2 separate regions of the Homo sapiens genome follow, and region 1 is linked to region 2. Evidence: promoter capture Hi-C in 16 types of primary human blood cells and fetal thymus (Javierre and others, 2016). All regions are on one chromosome and are shown on one strand. Each heading gives the region's core, a stretch centred on a gene start or on the middle of the fragment in contact. The rest is flanking DNA. Distances are from core to core; before and after follow the strand shown.

Evidence for each region. Contacts are between HindIII fragments. The CHiCAGO score rates a contact against its expected background, and 5 or more counts as called.
Region 1: a contact is called between a fragment that was not itself captured here and the fragment with the promoter of PLEKHM3 in region 2, in 1 of 17 cell types (total CD8 T cells). The highest score is 5.6, in total CD8 T cells.

Annotation. Positions count from the first base shown.
Region 1 is chr2:207,478,393-207,481,745 of GRCh38, forward strand. No RefSeq gene overlaps it. Among named protein-coding and RNA genes, the nearest start is that of CREB1, 50 kb to the right of the region's middle. The HindIII fragment of the contact is 1,328 bases long and covers 1,347-2,674 here.
Region 2 is chr2:208,023,196-208,026,907 of GRCh38, forward strand. It overlaps PLEKHM3 (pleckstrin homology domain containing M3), which reads right to left and starts at 2,332. Exons shown (of 8, transcript NM_001080475.3): 1 at 2,194-2,332. The HindIII fragment of the contact is 3,995 bases long and covers 1-3,286 here.

The sequences.
Region 1 (3,353 bases), core at 761-3,260, 550 kb before region 2:
GGAAAAGATATTTTTCTTCTACAGTTAAAAACATAAAAATTAGAAAATCCCTGGGAAATATTTTTATATCACCAGCAAATATCCTGACTAGTCAAAGTGAGGCTTGCCATCAAAAGGAAGTCAGGATTCATCTATTTCTATTATGACCTTTCATTTCCTGCTGCATATTATAGTACATAGTAGACATTCAACAAATGTGGTTGACTGATGGATGGATTCATTTAACCGGTAATTATCAAGCAAGCACTATCAGGCAGACTGATCCAAGCACTATGGGAAGTGGGACTCGGCCTCCCTCTCTTACGACAGACTGGGCATGTGTAAACTTCTGTGCCTATGTTGCCCCATCAGCAATCTGGGGTTTCTAACTCCTAACATCCTCTAGTAATTTTGTTCATTGTAGTGAAAAACTGTCACTATACTCCTGGACTGAAGATTGCTGTAAGACAGTGGTTCTCAATGGGAGGCAAAGGCATTTGTTGAATGTCTACTATGTACTATAATATGCAGCAGGAAATGAAAGGTCATAATAGAAATAGATGAATCCTGACTTCCTTTTGATGGCAAGCCTCATTTTGACTAGTCAGGATATTTGCTGGTGATATAAAAATATTTCCCGGGGATTTTCTAATTTTTATGTTTTTAACTGTAGGAGAAGAAAAATATCTTTTCCTTTACCCATCATAGGTTGATGGCTGAGGTCCCCACGGCAATGGGAGGCAATATTGCTCCCCGGGGACATTTGGCCATGTCAGAATACACCGTTTATTGTCACACTAGAGGAAGGGGTCCTACTAGCATCTAATAGGGAGAGGCCATGGATGCTGTTAAATAGCCTATAATGCACAGGCAGCTCCTCCGTCCCAAACAGAGTTAGCAGCGCTGCGGTTGAGTAGAAAAATGCTCTAAGTTCACACATAAGTGTCATAAAGATCTTTGTGGGGTCACAAGGATGAAGGTCATCAACTTCATGCATAATGATTGAAATGGGAGGGGTCTAGCAGATCCAAACTACTTGATTATTTGATATTTCACAAAATACTGACTAATCTGCGTCATAATAACTATTGCTTACTGTCAAATGAGATTATTATCTCTTCTTAAAAGCCCATGTGTTTGAACTCTGTGGAAAGTAACACCACAAGAAAAAAAATCAGGGAGAGTTTGAAGAACTGTTTGTCACTGTTTACATTTCCCTCAACCCAGGAAGATGAGAGAAATTCTTGGAGCTTTCTAAATGCTTTGCTCGAATAAAGTGAAACCCACATCCACAACATCAAACATGCCAACAAGACATCACTCCCTTGAAATTCAAAGAGAAAAATACTCTCAACAAGAACTGTGGAAGCTTAGGGTAGTATAAATGTTTTAAATGATTTTCTTAAAAAAAAAACCTTACTCTGAAAACTAGTATCCTTAACAAAGGAAGATCAACTCTACATAAGAATTTTAAAAACACTCAGGTGGAAGTAGAACAAAAGCAAGAAGATATATTTAGACACAAATGCTGTAACTGTTTTCCATTGACAATCATTCCAGAAAATTTCTCCAATTAGGCAAATAAAGGGGTTTTAAAGGCATTCTCAGATGTGCTTATTAGTGTGGATTATTGTTTCTTTTTTGTTTGCAAACAGTATAAGACAAAATGGAGTTTCATCAGTCAAGGAGTTATTCAAGATAAAAATTAACAAATTACTTTTTCGGGTGAAAACTTTTACTCACTTTTTAAAATCTAATTTCCACTCTACCTAAAGATAAGTTATGAAATCAGTACTGTAGAAAGGGAGAAAGAGAGCACATATGTGGCACCTTTGCTTTTATTGTCTTCGAGCCAAATCCTTGACATTCATTATTAATATATTATGGTCATAATAGATATTACAATCAAAAATCATTTGCCCGATTGTTCCCTTTTTGACCCATAGGTCACAGAGTATCCTATTTATAATTCTGCTTTAGAAAGAAGTTTAAGAAAGGGACAAAATAGCCTCACCGCTTCATTGATTAACAAGTTGAGTTGAGTTTCTAAGCCCCTGACCTCACTCTAGATTTGGTGCAGCAGAGAGAGAGAGCTGGACACTCAGGAGAGGTCTGGGTAGAGTATTAGCCAAGGACAAAGCACTATACTGGCTCTCGTGTAGCTTAGATACCAAGTGAAAAAAATGATATGAGAATGTAATGAAAGCCTAATAAAATCCATTTCAAACCACTGCAGGGTAGGGTCAAGAGTCCTAGGGAGAGTCCAGACAGGGACACGTGTGACCGCTGAAATTAACATCTCACCTGGCAAGCCCCACTGCTTCACTTTGATTGGCACCCAGCTCAAGAGCTCATCACAGTGGTTCGAGGCATTCAACCTGCTGGGCTCCTTTTCTCACCAACTCAGCTGCTCCCCTTGTCCAACCCTCAGGGATTCTTTCTCTGGCCCAGTGAAAGATGACCAAGCAGACACAGCAAAATATGTTTTTAGAGGAAGAGGAAGAAGAAAAGGAGAAGGAGACCATGGAAGCACTTGTGAAAACATGTTTGGGAGAAAAACAAGCCTGGACTTCTAGACTGATACTATTTTGCTTCTAAATAAACCATTGGAAAACACTACATAATAGTAGCTAACTTTTATTGAGTGTTTACTACATGCCAAGCTCTTTCTAAATACTTTTCATATGTTAGCACAAGCTTCACATCAGCCCCTGTAGTTTGTACAGTTATTGCCCCACTTGTTGGATGGGGAAAGTAGGACACACACCCTTGGTTACACTAGTAAATGGCAGACCTGGAAGAGGAATCCAGGAAGCCTGACTTCAGAGCCCAGGCATGCTCCTAATTGTCTTCATCTCCCCTTGTCTATCCAATGCCTATGCTGGATGGCCATTGCTATGGCATGTTTTATAGAGAGAAAATGAGAAGCACAAAAGCTGTATGACCATCCACAACCCTGATGCTATGAAAACCCAAGTATCTAATGCCTCCATTGTTTTTCTGCACCACTGGGCATATTTAACCAAATAATTTGATGAAAATAGTCCTGGAACCAAATCCAGTGTAGCAGTACAATAATAGCACGAACAATAGAAAGCAAAACACAGATGAAGAATTGTGCTCTTTTTATCAGTTGGATTGTTCTCTAATCATTTCATATATATGAATGTCTGAAATTGCAACTATAAATCCCTCAAGGATAGGAATATATATTTCTTTTTAAATATCATAGAACACTGACATGTAGTATGATTGATAATTACTGGTTAAATGAATCCATTCATCAATCAACCACATTTGTTGAATGTCTACCACGTACTATAATATACAGCAGGAAATGAAAGATCGTAACAGAACTAGATTAATTCTGACTT
Region 2 (3,712 bases), core at 1,082-3,581:
GTGCGTGGCGTAATCATACCTCACTTAACTTCCAACTCTTGGGTTCAAGCAATGCCCCCGCCTCAGCCTCCCAAAGCACTGGAATTACAGGCCTGAGCCATCATATCCAGCCCCATCTTAACTATTTTTAAGTGTACAGTTCAGTATTGTTAAGTACATTCACATTGTTGTGCAGCCAATCTCCAGAACTCTTTTCATTTTGCAAAACTGAAACTCTATACCCATTAAACCAGGAGTCCCCAACCCCCATGTCTGTAGACTAGTACGGGTCCATGGCCTGTTAGGAACTGGGCCACACAACAGTGAGCGATGGACCAGCCACGCATTGCTGTTTGAGCTCCGCCTCCTGTCAGATCGGCAGCAGCATTAGATTCTCATAGGAGCGCAAACCTTATTGTGAACTGTGCGTGCGAGGGATCTAGGTTGCACGCTCCTTATGAGAATCTAACTAATGCCTAATGATCTGAGGTGGAACAGTTTCATCCCGTAACTATCACCCCCCTACTCCCCGACCCCACACCACCCGCTCTGTGGAAAAATGGTCTTCCGGTCCCTGGTGCCAAAAACCACCAGGGGACCGCAGCATTAAACAACAAATCCCCATTGCCTGCCTCCCTCCAGGCCCTGGTAATCACCATTCCACTTTCAACACTGGCATATTTTTATTTTATATATTTATTAACAAACATGTATATAGCAATTACTATATGCCAGGTACGGTTCTAAGCCTTGAGCTCAGGAGTTCAAGACCAGCCTGGGCAACATGGCGAAACCCTGTCTCTACCAAATGTACAAAAATTAGCCAGGCGTGGTGGCTTGTGCCTATGGTTCCAGCCACAAGGGAGGCTGAGGTGGAAGGATCGCTTGAGTCCAGGAAGTCGAGACTGCAGTGAGCCATGATCACGCCACTGTACTCCAGCCCGAATGACAGAGTAAGACCCTGTCTCAAAATAAAATAAAATAAAATAAAATAAAATAAAATAAAATAACAATAATAAAAACCCTAATGAGGTCAATACTATTATTATTCCCATTCTACAGATTAGGAAACAGAAGCGCTAAGTAAACTGCCCAAGATTACACAACTAGGAAGTGACCAAGCAGGAATTCAAACTGAAGTAGTCTGGCTTTATAGTTTTTGCTATAAACCATGACATTGTAAAAATATTCATTGTAAAGAAAAACTCATCAGGAATTAGTATCATTTCTTCTATGTATATCTATCTATTGTAGGTGCAATTTAACCTAATATTCATCTCCTGTCTAAAAGACTATGTGACCAAGGTTACAAATGTCTACTGATATTTTTAGAGACTAGATATATAGCCCAGCTTTTGTTAAGGCATTTTCTTGAAGTCAGTCAGTCAAAAACTGCCTTGTATTTTAAGTATGCCAATTATAATTTACATGTAGTATTTTATAATAAAATACTTTATAAATACAAATCACAACTCACTACGATTACTTAAAATATAGAGAAAAAAATTCAGCTGTTTCTCTCTGGTCCCTTCCAAGGAAGAAAAAAGAAGAGAGAAATAAACTTCTAAATAAGTTTACAACAGCATGGCTCAATCTCAGTTTAACCTGGTAAATTCAAATTTGTCTTGCTTTGCAAGGTATACATCCAGACCAGTCTCAATTTGTCATCCAAATATATATCTCAGTAGTAATTTATTTTTGTTTAAGGGATGAGTGTGAGATTTTCTTATCTTGATTTTTTAGCTTAATAATTCTTTCCTACAAGACCAAACCATGCTTGTCATCAGTCATGTGGTGTCATTTACTATACATTAAAAACGGACAGAGTCGACAGAAAGAACAATCGTTTTCTGGAAGCCCCAGCCTGATGTAGGTTAAAAGCTCTGCTGGGGTTTGGTTTTATAATCCCCAGGCGGGGATGGCAGGGATACTAATAACGCACTCAACAAGATCACCTACTATTTCAACTACTTTCTCCTCCTATTACATACCTGATTCACAAAAATAAGCAGACAATGCATCATGTAATCTCCCCTCACCCATTAGCCATTGCAGTGTGGTACAATCTCCAGCACGTAATAAAAACCTGAGCATGCAAGAAACAGCAAAATCACTGCTATCCCTGGGAGCTGCTCGGATATTTACAATGCAGTCGTCCCCACCCCATCCCCCAAACTGGCCGGCCAGGCAGCACAGAAGCAGACGGATGCTCACCTGGGCCCCGGCTGCTACTCTCCATTCACCTGCGGGGCCTTCAGTCCGCTCCTGGAGGGGCTTGACTCCCGCAGCCTGCCGCCCGCCTCACGGTGACAGCCCGCCCGGGCGCTGACCATCCCGGCCCGGCTCTGTTTACAAGCGGCTTCTCGCGGTCCCACTCTGAAATGCTTCCGCCGGCGGCCCGGGCAGCCAGAGCCGGACACACAAGGTTCCAGGCCGCGAGGACGAGTCTTTCCTGCCCGAGGGACCCGGCAGCTAGGCAAGGCCTGACCGCACCCGCCAGGCCTCCTTATTTCTTTGCTTTCTTATATACAGTTCCTCTTGTACACATTGTGAAAGCAATGGCGTGTGTCGTGGAGTCTCCTCACTGCTCCACCCAACGCCAAAATGGGTGTTTGCGATTGGAAAATGTCACTTAGAACATGTCAGGATCGGGCTGGTTTTTAGCAGCTCCCTTGTCTAAGGGAATTAATTACTCAAATAAGTTCTTTCCAAAAGTGGGACTATTCTGGAGATTGCTTCTCATTTCCGGTTTTGGGGCTGCAGTGAAAATCCGTTTTCACTGTCCTTTCCTACGCAGGTTGAAAAGGGGTGGTTTTGAGGTGAGGTCTTCACCCCCACTTGCGGATTCCCAGCAAAATAGGGTGTGCGTGTGTGTGCACGCGGGCAGGACTGCCTGGTAAGACCGCCCACATCCCACCTGCAGTGACTGTGGTCGCTTTGCAGGGATATGCTGGTCTGATTGGACAGACCTTCCTTGCAGTTTCCTGTCTGTTTTCCATCATAGCACACTTCTTAGCCATTTTCTCACTTTATAAGTACACACTTATTTATCAGTTTTATTGGTTTTCCCACGCTCACCCATCTCACCTATAAACTCCCTGAGGGCAGGCACTATTTCAGTTTCACTCACCACCATCTAGTAGGCACCTAGCACAGGCCCAATGTATATATATCTGAATAAATGAATGAACAAAGGAATGATAAAAAAAAAAAAAGGTCAAAGGGGTCAGGGATGAAACAGAAATCTAAAACTCTGATTCCTCTTCCCACCTTCCCACCCTCCAGAAGATTAATAAGCAAATCTTTAAGCTTTGAGTTAAGAAAAAATTTCCTTTGGTTGATATTCAAAGTTTAAATAAGCTTTCTTTAAACCCTGCAATTTGAGGTACTTTTTTTTCTGTTTTGCTAGAGACAGGATCTCACTCTGTGCCCCGGCCAGAGTGCAGTCGCACGATCATAGCTCACTGCAGCCCTGAACTCCTGGGTTCAAGGGATCCCCCCAACTCAGCCTCCTGAGTAGCTAGGACTACAGGCACGCATCACCACAACGTGGCTAACTTCTTTTTTCTTTCTTTCTCTTTTTTTTTTTTTTGTAAAGGCAAGGTCTCCCTGTGTTGCCCAGGATGATCCTGAACTCCTGGCCTCAGGCAATCCTTCTTCCTTGCCTTCCAAAGTGCTGGGATTACAGGTGTGAGCCACCTCACCTGGCCAGAGGTACATTTTTTGTTTTGTT